Linked DNA regions of Homo sapiens: all the other regions are linked to region 3. The links are contacts of gene promoters, found by promoter capture Hi-C in blood cells and fetal thymus (Javierre and others, 2016). All regions are on one chromosome and are shown on one strand. Each heading gives the region's core, a stretch centred on a gene start or on the middle of the fragment in contact. The rest is flanking DNA. Distances are from core to core; before and after follow the strand shown.

The links. The method cuts DNA at HindIII sites, captures the fragments that hold promoters and counts their contacts. A CHiCAGO score of 5 or more calls a contact.
Region 1: a fragment that was not itself captured here is called in contact with the fragment with the promoter of MSL1 in region 3 in 10 of 17 cell types (endothelial precursors, erythroblasts, M0 macrophages and 7 more); the score reaches 9.4 in endothelial precursors.
Region 2: a contact is called between the fragment with the promoter of CSF3 here and the fragment with the promoter of MSL1 in region 3, in 4 of 17 cell types (erythroblasts, M2 macrophages, endothelial precursors and 1 more). The highest score is 6.7, in erythroblasts.

The regions. Positions count from the first base shown.
Region 1 is chr17:40,031,807-40,034,704 of GRCh38, reverse strand. MED24 (mediator complex subunit 24) reads left to right here. Exons shown (of 26, transcript NM_014815.4): 7 at 1,249-1,360; 8 at 1,499-1,649; 9 at 1,943-2,056; 10 at 2,615-2,662. Among named protein-coding and RNA genes, the nearest start is that of SNORD124, 5.6 kb to the right of the region's middle. The HindIII fragment of the contact is 1,260 bases long and covers 725-1,984 here.
Region 2 is chr17:40,013,808-40,016,854 of GRCh38, reverse strand. CSF3 (colony stimulating factor 3) reads right to left here and starts at 1,415. Exons shown (of 5, transcript NM_172219.3): 1 at 1,341-1,415; 2 at 1,010-1,164; 3 at 515-622; 4 at 224-370; 5 at 1-60. The coding sequence starts at 1,380. PSMD3-AS1 (PSMD3 antisense RNA 1) reads left to right here and starts at 2,214. Exons shown (of 3, transcript NR_198981.1): 1 at 2,214-2,301; 2 at 2,496-2,617. RefSeq lists an enhancer at 1,006-1,505. The HindIII fragment of the contact is 16,036 bases long and covers 1-3,047 here.
Region 3 is chr17:40,120,385-40,123,441 of GRCh38, reverse strand. It overlaps MSL1 (MSL complex subunit 1), which reads right to left and starts at 1,471. Exons shown (of 9, transcript NM_001365919.1): 1 at 62-1,471. The coding sequence starts at 829. It overlaps LOC124904001 (a long non-coding RNA gene), which reads left to right and starts at 1,602. Exons shown (of 2, transcript XR_007065752.1): 1 at 1,602-1,658; 2 at 2,029-2,913. RefSeq lists an enhancer at 1-630 and silencers at 331-780, 831-880, 981-1,120, 1,181-1,390, 1,431-1,630 and 1 more. The HindIII fragment of the contact is 11,445 bases long and covers 1-3,057 here.

The DNA.
Region 1 (2,898 bases), core at 105-2,604, 89 kb after region 3:
CGCTTGGAAGCAGATGACTCTTGTATTTGAATGTTACCTAAAATGCCCCTTTTAACACAGTGCCTGTCTGCTGTTGGGCCTGTTGTACCATATGCCTCTTGACTCAAGTTCAGATGTTAAGTTTGGGTACTTTCCAGAGCCTGAGAACAGACAGATCACCTGGCGGGAGGGAAGATGCCAGTATTTCCAGCAATGGGGTCCTAAGGCCATAGTCTTGCTCCTTGAAGCCCAAGTGGCTTGGGACCACCTACAGGTCTCTTGTTCTCCAGGAACAAGAATGCTAGAATGGGCTACTCTCGAGGCTTCAGGACCTGGTTGGAGAGCTTGTTTTAGGACTAGTATATTTATTTCTTCCCCAAGTATGTTTTACTGCCTGTGAAAAGTCCAAAAAGACAATCTTTATATAAAAATGGACTGTGTTGACAGCCTCTTCCCTACCTTGGGCCCTTGATAAATGTTTATTGGCTGAAAATCGGATGAATACTGAATTTTAATGGATCTCAGGTCTTGTCTTTTTTTCCCCCTTTTATGCTCCATGGAGGTTAATGGGCTAGTTGGTGCCATTATTCATCATTTGACCCTCTGGAATTGTAACTAGGATAAGTAACTTATAGTTCAGTGCTAACCAATATGGCTTAGACCATGAGTGTGGGCATTAAGGAGAGAACAGTGAGTTAGACCAGTCGGGTGAGTTGCTAAAGGAACTGGGGCTTGAACAGAAGCTTAGAGCATGGTGGGAGTTTGAGAGAGAGTGTGTAAGAGGCCTTCAGCAGGGGAGGGCAGCAAACGCAATGCCTAGATGAGGGAGTGGTTGAGAATGAGAAAGCCATTTAGGGACCCAGTTCCCCCAGAGGAGAGTGACAGCCTCTGCAAGACTGGACTTTGGGATCCGCTCACTCCTCGAGTGATTTGTGGCCGCCCTCCCTGTTCCAGCCACTGGATTCTGGCCTCCCTCTGCCTCTCTCTCCTGAGCCTGTGTGATGCCATACCTTCTGAAGTCAGCTGGCTGTGTCCCCTGGAAATCAGGCTTTTGGGAATGGTCTCTGGGGTTTCCAGCTCTAGGTGCCCACCCCCCTTCTGGAAACAGTGCATGCTGCCCTCAGGCCCCTCCCTCCCTGTTGTCCTCAGGGGAAGCCTTCCTGTGTGGTTTCGTGTGCCGGAGGGAGTGCCAAAATCGAGGAGTTCAGGGCCAGGTGCTCCTTCTCTCCTGTTTCCCATCATGTTTCTGTACTTCCTTCCCTCTGCCAGCTTCTTGGACTGCCATCGAGCATTCTCTCTTGAAACTTGGAGAGATCCTGGCCAATCTCAGCAACCCGCAGCTCCGGAGTCAGGCCGAGCAGTGTGGCACCCTCATTAGGAGGTACCGGCTCCCTGGGGGATGGTGGAGAAGGGAGAGGGAGGACACGCCCTGGGGTAGGAAGATGTGGCACCCGTGCCATCCTCTCCGCCTTCACCTTTGGCCCCCCAAACACCGTCCCCTGTGTTTGTGACCCCTCAGCATCCCCACGATGCTGTCTGTGCATGCGGAGCAGATGCACAAGACCGGCTTCCCCACTGTCCACGCCGTGATCCTGCTCGAGGGCACCATGAACCTGACAGGCGAGACGCAGTCCCTGGTGGAGCAGCTGACGATGGTGAAGCGCATGCAGGTGGGAGGGGCCGAGTGGCTCTCCCTTCTCCAAGGCAGGCCAGCCTGTTGGGGGCAGGAGGGAGGATTCTTCTGGTTCTCCCTGGGAGAAGTGGGGTTTCTCCTGCTCCATGATGGAAAGTGGGTGCCAGTCGTGCACACTTCTGTCATTGGACCTTACTCCCCTGGTTCTCAGCACATAGCTGAGCAGTGACTCTGCCATGCAGTCTCTGACCCAGCCAAATCCTCAGAGTCCACAGAAGGGTGACGGGGTATGGGCACCCTCTTAGGCCTCATCCTTGGCTCTTCCCACAGCATATCCCCACCCCACTTTTTGTCCTGGAGATCTGGAAAGCTTGCTTCGTGGGGCTCATTGAGTCTCCCGAGGGTACGGAGGAGCTCAAGTGGACAGCTTTCACTTTCCTCAAGGTACTGGGGACGTGGGAGGGGCAGAGCCAGTCTAGGAATGGTTCTTAGCAAGACCAGTGGCACCCTGGACCTTTGCCCTGTGTTCCTCCCTGCGGGCACTGGGCCCAGCCTGCCAGGTATTCCAGTGCAAGTTCCCATTGATCATTTTCTCTGAAAGTGCCAGGGCTATATTTAGCCCATTTGGCAGACTCCGTTGTTTCTTACCACAGAGGTGCAGTTTAGCTTGGTCATCAGACAGATAGGTGCAGGGCAGTAAAGGGAGCCAGGGAAAGGGGCCCCAGTCCTCCTTGAAGCTGGGGATCCACTTTTGCTTATGGCATCTTTTTCTGTTGAGCTAGCGGAGGTGCAGGGTGCTTGTGTCCTGTGCCTAGGCCTGGGGGCATCAGGGGCCTGGGCACCTATTGGCTTTCTCATTTAGCACTAAGTGTGCTCTCACTCCCAGGGTAGGAGTGTTCCTGTCTCTCTTCCTGGAGCAGGGGTTCGGGGGGATGCCTTCAGGGGTAGATGAAAGAGAAAAGAAATGGATCTTCCTGTTTTTCCCCCTGCCTCACCCCCTAGATTCCACAGGTTTTGGTGAAGTTGAAGAAGTACTCTCATGGAGACAAGGTGAGTTGGGGATTGAGATGGAGGCATGGGAGCAGAAATAAGGGCAAAGGGGAGGGTCCTTCAGGCCCCAGCTGGGCAGTGTTCTCATGCCTGGAAGAGAGCCGGATGTGAGTGTACACCTCAGCGTGCACGTGCTTCACAATGTGCATGCTTCAGCATGTGCGTGTGCTTCAGCATGTGCGTGTGCTTCAGTGTGTGCGTGCTTCAGTGTGTGTGTTTCAGCGTGTGTGTGCTTC
Region 2 (3,047 bases), core at 166-2,665, 110 kb after region 3:
GAAGGCCGGCATGGCACCCTGGGTGGGCTGCAGGGCAGGGGCCATTCCCAGTTCTTCCATCTGTGGGGGAAAGCTGTGATCAGTGGTTGGGCCCTTCTGAGTGGGCGTTATTACAAATGAGGAAATGCTGGGGGTGACAGCATGGACAGGGCCCATACACAGGCCTGGCTGTGGTGCCCAGAATGCCAGCACGACCTTGGCCACCCTGCCCAACAAGGCTCACCTGCTGCCAGATGGTGGTGGCAAAGTCGGCGACGTCCAGCTGCAGTGTGTCCAAGGTGGGACCCAACTCGGGGGAGATCCCTTCCAGGGCCTGCAGGAGCCCCTGGTAGAGGAAAAGGCCGCTATGGAGTTGGCTCAAGCAGCCTGCCTGTGAGACAGAGCGGAAGAGTTAGGGGGTGCTGCCTGAGATACGTCAGGCCCCCAGCTTGGAACCTGGAGACATGGGGGAGCCCATGGGTGTTCCTCCTCTCCTTCCCCCTCCTCATTAGCCTTATCCTTTCCTGACACTCACCAGCTGCAGGGCCTGGCTGGGGCAGCTGCTCAGGGGAGCCCAGGGGATGCCCAGAGAGTGTCCGAGCAGCACCAGCTCCTCGGGGTGGCACAGCTTGTAGGTGGCACACTGGGGATGGAAGGATGCTGAGTGAGACTCGCCATGGCCGGGTCGCCGCTCCTTCCCGGGTCCTCCCCGACTCTCTGGTCTTTCCCCTCCCTCCATGTCCTGCCAGGCTGTTCAGTTCCTCTCTGCCCTGCACCCCCACTCTCTGATCTCACAGGGGCCCTTGCCCTTTCTCCTGAATGTAATGCCTCCACTCCCATCCCAGCCAGCCCTCCCGAGCACTGTCCCCACCAAGGTCCTCCTCCCCAAGTCCCTTCCCAGCCTTCCCCAGCTCCACTGCTCCTAATATTCTCCCACGTCCCTTCCAGAGGATGTTGGCCCTGCAGTTCCATCCCCCTTAGCTCTCCCCACCGGGCTTCCCTCCACAGCCCTCTCACCCACCTCACTCACCAGCTTCTCCTGGAGCGCTGCGCCATCGCCCTGGATCTTCCTCACTTGCTCTAAGCACTTGAGCAGGAAGCTCTGGGGCAGGGAGCTGGCAGGGCCCAGGGGGGTGGCTTCCTGCACTGTCCAGAGTGCACTGTGCCACAGCAGCAGCTGCAGGGCTGGGGACAGAGCGGGCTCAGGAGACATGCTGTTCCCTACCACCTGAGGCCCTCTCGGGGACACTGGGTGCCTTTAATCCCCATTCCCAGAACGGGGATCCCCAGCCCCTCTGTCACACCAGCCTCCCTCCCATGCCAGGGCAGGCGGCTCTCCCATCCTGGGCCAAGACACTCACCCATCAGCTTCATGGGGCTCTGGGTGGCAGGTCCAGCCATGGGTCTGGGTGGGGCTGGGCTGCAGGCTCCGGGCTGTTTTGGGGCCCAGCTCTAGGGGGGCCTTTATACATAACCCCATGGAGGCCTGGGAGGAAATTACCTGGGGCCACGACTAAGGCTTAGTAATAACTTCCCAGGATTTATGCAAATTTGGTGTCCAAGACAATGCAGGGGGGTTGGAACAAAAAGCTGTTTGCGAAAGTTTTGTGAAATTGTGGAATCTCTGATCCTCCTTTGACGTCGCCTTGCCCCCCTCAAACTCCCTTCCTCCCGCTGCCCCACCCAGGCCTGAATGGCCCCAGAGTGTTTGAACAGAACAGCTGAACAAAGGCTGAGCCGCTGATAGACGCCTGGAAGCGGCAGCAGCCTGTGGGGAAGTGGCAGCTGAGTCGGGGTCTCCCTCTCTGCTCTGGCAGACTTGCGGGGGCAGTGTCCTTTGCCCCTCTCCTTTGGGATTCTCAAGCCTGTCCCCCAAGCCCCCAAATTCTAAGAGAGAAAAAAAGAAGCTGGTTGCTCCCATTCCTACCCCCAAACTCTCCGGAGGCTGCCTGTCTGGGAGACCTCCTGAGCCCCTACCTGAGATAAGGACATTGGGTCTTGGCTGCTGTGCCCACCCCACACTTGGATAGGCACCATCGAAAGTTCCAGGCTGTCCTGTCCCAAGTTGATTAGCTGGGAACTCCCCCAGAAACCCCCCCGCCCCCCATGACTCATTCGGCTAAAGCCCCTAGAATCCCGGTAGAGCCAGAGGAAACCGGATGTCTGTCCCGAATGAGGCAAGACCCTTCGAGGCGATTGGCTCACCTGACCTTCACCTCCTCGTGCACGACCCTGACAGTAGGGTCCCCAAGGGCTTTGGAACTGCGGGATTGGGACACGTGACTTCCCTGGTCATTCACCTTGAAGTGGACACGGGCTGGGGTGAGAGAGGGGAAACTGCCCCATCTTCTCATCTTAGAACCATGCAGCGTTAATGCTGGAAGGGACCTTGGAGTCGATTCCAACCCCGTGAACTGGGCCAGGGAAGGAAGTGCCTTGCCCAAGGTCATGGTAAGTGACAGAATTACAGCCTGGGCCTCTGGCTCAGACCTGAACGTTTTCTTTTTCTTTTCCAGATGGAGTCTTGCTCTGTCGCCCAGGCTGGAGTGCAGTGGCGCGATCTCGGCTCACTGCAAACTCTGCCTCTCGGGTTCACGCCATTCTCCTGCCTCAGCCTCCCGAGTAGCTGGAACTACAGGTGCCCGCCACCATGCCCGGCCAATTTTTTGTATTTTTAGTAGAGACGGGGTTTCACCGTGTTAGCCAGGATGGTCACGATCTCCTGACCTCGTGATCCACCCGCCTCGGCCTCCCAAAGTGCTGGGATTACAGGCGTGAGCCACCGTGCCCGGCCTAGGCCTGAACGTTTTCTACAGGCCACAAGGCCTGCCTGGGGCAGTCTGACTGACCACACCCAAGACTGTCACCTTCTGTCCTAATTTACCCCAGCGTGCCAAGAAACAGACATCTCTGGATGAGAAGTGGATGTGGTGACTGGATGGGGCCATCTCTGGTGCTTGGGGGCCCCCTGGTGGTCACCAATGGCAGGGACGTCTGATCTCACACACTGATCTCACACACTGTTATCTGGTCCGCGGTCCTGCAGCTCCGCCTTAGCTCTGTGGCTC
Region 3 (3,057 bases), core at 222-2,721:
TTCCCCCGAGCATGCGCACAACTCGCTCCTCGGCCCGAATGCAGATTAACCCCTCCCGTACCGTGTCTCTCTCTGACTTCAGCTCCTCGATCTCCTTTTCCTTGGCCTGCAGCTGCTGCTGCTGCTGTTCGATGAGGTCCAATTGCAGCAGAAGGATCTGTTTGAGGCAGGCGGCCTGACTGGAGGCTCCCGAGCCGCCACCACCCCCGAGAGGGCTCTTCCTCATACTCTTCCATCTGCCCTCGCTGGCCGCCAGGGTCCCGGCGGTGGCGGTGGGCGCGAGGGGTGGCGGCCCGGGCAGAGGTAGTGGTGGGGGTCCCGCCGGGTCCGAGGCGGTGGCAGCGGGGGAGGCCGCCCCACCCTTGTCCCCAGCCCAGGGCGTAGGCTCTTTGGCCGCCGCCACGAGAGAGCCCGTCTGAATGGGCAGCACCGCCTGATACTTGGGCCGGGGGCTGCAGCCGGCTCCGGCTGCGGCAGGCTCCCCCCCAATGCCGGCTTGCTTGGTGGCCGGGGGCGGACAGGGCAAGGGCACCGAACCGCCCCAGCTCTCTTCCTGCTGCCCGGGGGCCGCCCCGGCCGGGAGTAACAAGCCCCGGCCCTTGCCGCCGCAGCCGGCCGGGGAAGGCGCGGGGCTCCCGCCCTGGGAGGAGGCCAGCGGGGGCCCCGGCTCCTTGAGCTTACGGTGCCGGGGGAGGAAGTGGGCTTCGGCCGCCCCAGGCTCGTCCTCGGGCCCGCCCAGCGCCGCAGCCCGCTCGTAGTCCAGTCGCTGCTCAGGATTGCCGCCGGCAGGGGCCGCGGCCGCCTTGAACACCGCGGATCTCATGGTCATAGTGGTCCGGAGCAGCGCCGGGCACCGAGGCGGAGGAGGGGGTGGGGAAGGGGCGAGGTGCGGGGGGTCGAGGACTGAGGGGGGGGAGGGGAGTTTGGCGGGCTCGCCTCAGCAGCGCGGCAGCAGGCCTCCGCTAGCGCGGCTCCTCCGGGGCCCGGGCGCCATCCCGCCGGCGTGCGGAGACGTGGAGGCCGCGGCTGAGGCCCGCCGCCGGCCCATGGGGGCCTCGCCGCCGCCTCTGCTGCCGCCGCCGCCGCCTTCGCCTCAGAGGCAGGAGCTCGCACCCAGCCGCCCCCGAGCTCATCCCCGGAGCTCGCTTCGGCCCCCCCTGGCCCGGCCGGGCCCGCCTCGTCTCCCCACCCCGCACCCCCCCTTCCCCGCCCCGGCCCCCCGCCCCGGAGCTCGCCTCAACCGCCCCGAGCCTCCATTTCCCCCCCCTCCTCCTCAGGAGGGGGTGGAGGGCTGGGTCCGCCCAAAGCCCTCCTACTCCGGGAGAGGGGGTCTGTCGCCTCTCCCGGGGGTCTCCGCGGCTCGGGGTCCCCCTCCCCCACAGTCACCCCCGGCGCCTCAGCGTTTCCCTTTAAAAAAACGGAGCCGCTCGTAGCCGCCACCGCCGCAGCCGCCGCCAACCGGAGGACGCATGCGCGGGGAGGGGAGCGGGCGGGAGTGCACCGGGAGCCGAGAGGAGGGAGGCGGGCCGCGCTATTGTGAAAGGGGCCGCCGCCGCCTCGAGGGGGGCAGGGAGGGGACCGCGGGGGCCGGGGGCCGGCGAGGGGAGGCCGGGGCTGAGGGGCGAGGACCGAGGAGCGCGCGGAGGAGCGGGGTGAAGGTGGGCTGCCGAGGGAGGGGCGAGCCGGGGGAGGGTCTGGAGGGGGAAGAAGGGCGAGGGCGGCCGCGGGAAGAAGGGGAAAGCGGAGGCTCCCCGGGAAAAAAGCGCGAGAGAATGGAGTTGAGAGGAAAGAAGGAGGATACAGGCGGCCAATGTGTGGCCTACGTGGGAGCGCCCCGAGCGCTCCACGTCCCCGGCCTGCGCCGGGCGGCCCCTTCCCCGGGCATCTTGGCAACGCGCCTGGCCCAAGCCGGAGGGGCCCCGCGGCCCCGCACGCCTCCTGGACCAGTCAGGATCCAGGCTCCTCTTTGAGCCCGCGGGTGTTTCATGGGGGTAGAAGTCTAACCCCTCCACCCCCTCTCCTCCCCAGCAGTCCCACGCGGGTATGGGAGAGAATGAAGTTCTTTGTCTCTAAGGGATTCAAACCAGAAACGGAGGGACCTCTGGTTCCCAGAGGGAGGAAAATCCATGATGTCTGCTGCCCAGGGAGCTATTGCCACCGCCTCCTTGGGATGAAGTATTGCCAGCTACCAACAGTTCCTTCCCAACGGCCATCTTCCAGCCTTCTTAAACGACTCCTAGCATCTTCGGGAGGCTCCTGAAGGACTGAAGCAAAGGAAATCTCTGAAGGGATTTAGTCCTTGAAAGGGAGTAGGGATACTTAGGGTGTTCTGTGTTGAGCGCTTCTTCCTATCTCTCCAGCTTCATGTATGTGTGTCTTTATGTCCAAGCAATTGAGCCAACAAGTCCTCAGAATTCCTTGTGAAAAAAACGTTTTTTTTTTTTGAGACGGATTCTCACTCTGTCGCCCAGGCTGGAGTGCAATGGTGAAATTCAGCTCACTGCAACCTCCGCCTCCGGGGTTCAAGCGATTCTCCTGCCTCAGCCTCCCGAGTAGCTGGGATTACAGTCACGCGCCACCACGCCCAGCTAATTTTGTATTTTTAGTAGAGACAGGATTTCTCCTTGGTCAGGCTGGTCTGGAACTCCCGACTTCAGGTGATCCGCCCGCCTCGGCCTCCCAAAGTGGTGGGATTACAGGTGTGAGCCACCGTGCCCAGCCCTGAAATAGTCTTAATTGCTTGTTTTTCTTTTTTGTCTGAGGTGTGCTTTTTAAAATCTCTATGGAGATGGAGAAGACTGACATTCTCTGGCCTGATGTGAAAACCTCTCATTAAAACTGTGTCTGTGCTTTGTGGGCTGAAAGCATGAAACACTGGAAATTTTAAACAAACGTATGTGAATGTGTTAAGAAGCCAAGAGTCCGGCCCTCTTTCACCAGACTGTATGGCCTCAGATCAGCAAGGGAAGTATTGAGCTTAGGGACACCAAGTAATGGAGTGAGCAGGGATGAGAGGGCACATAGAATGTGGTGATCTCTTTCCATGTCAAGGCTTGT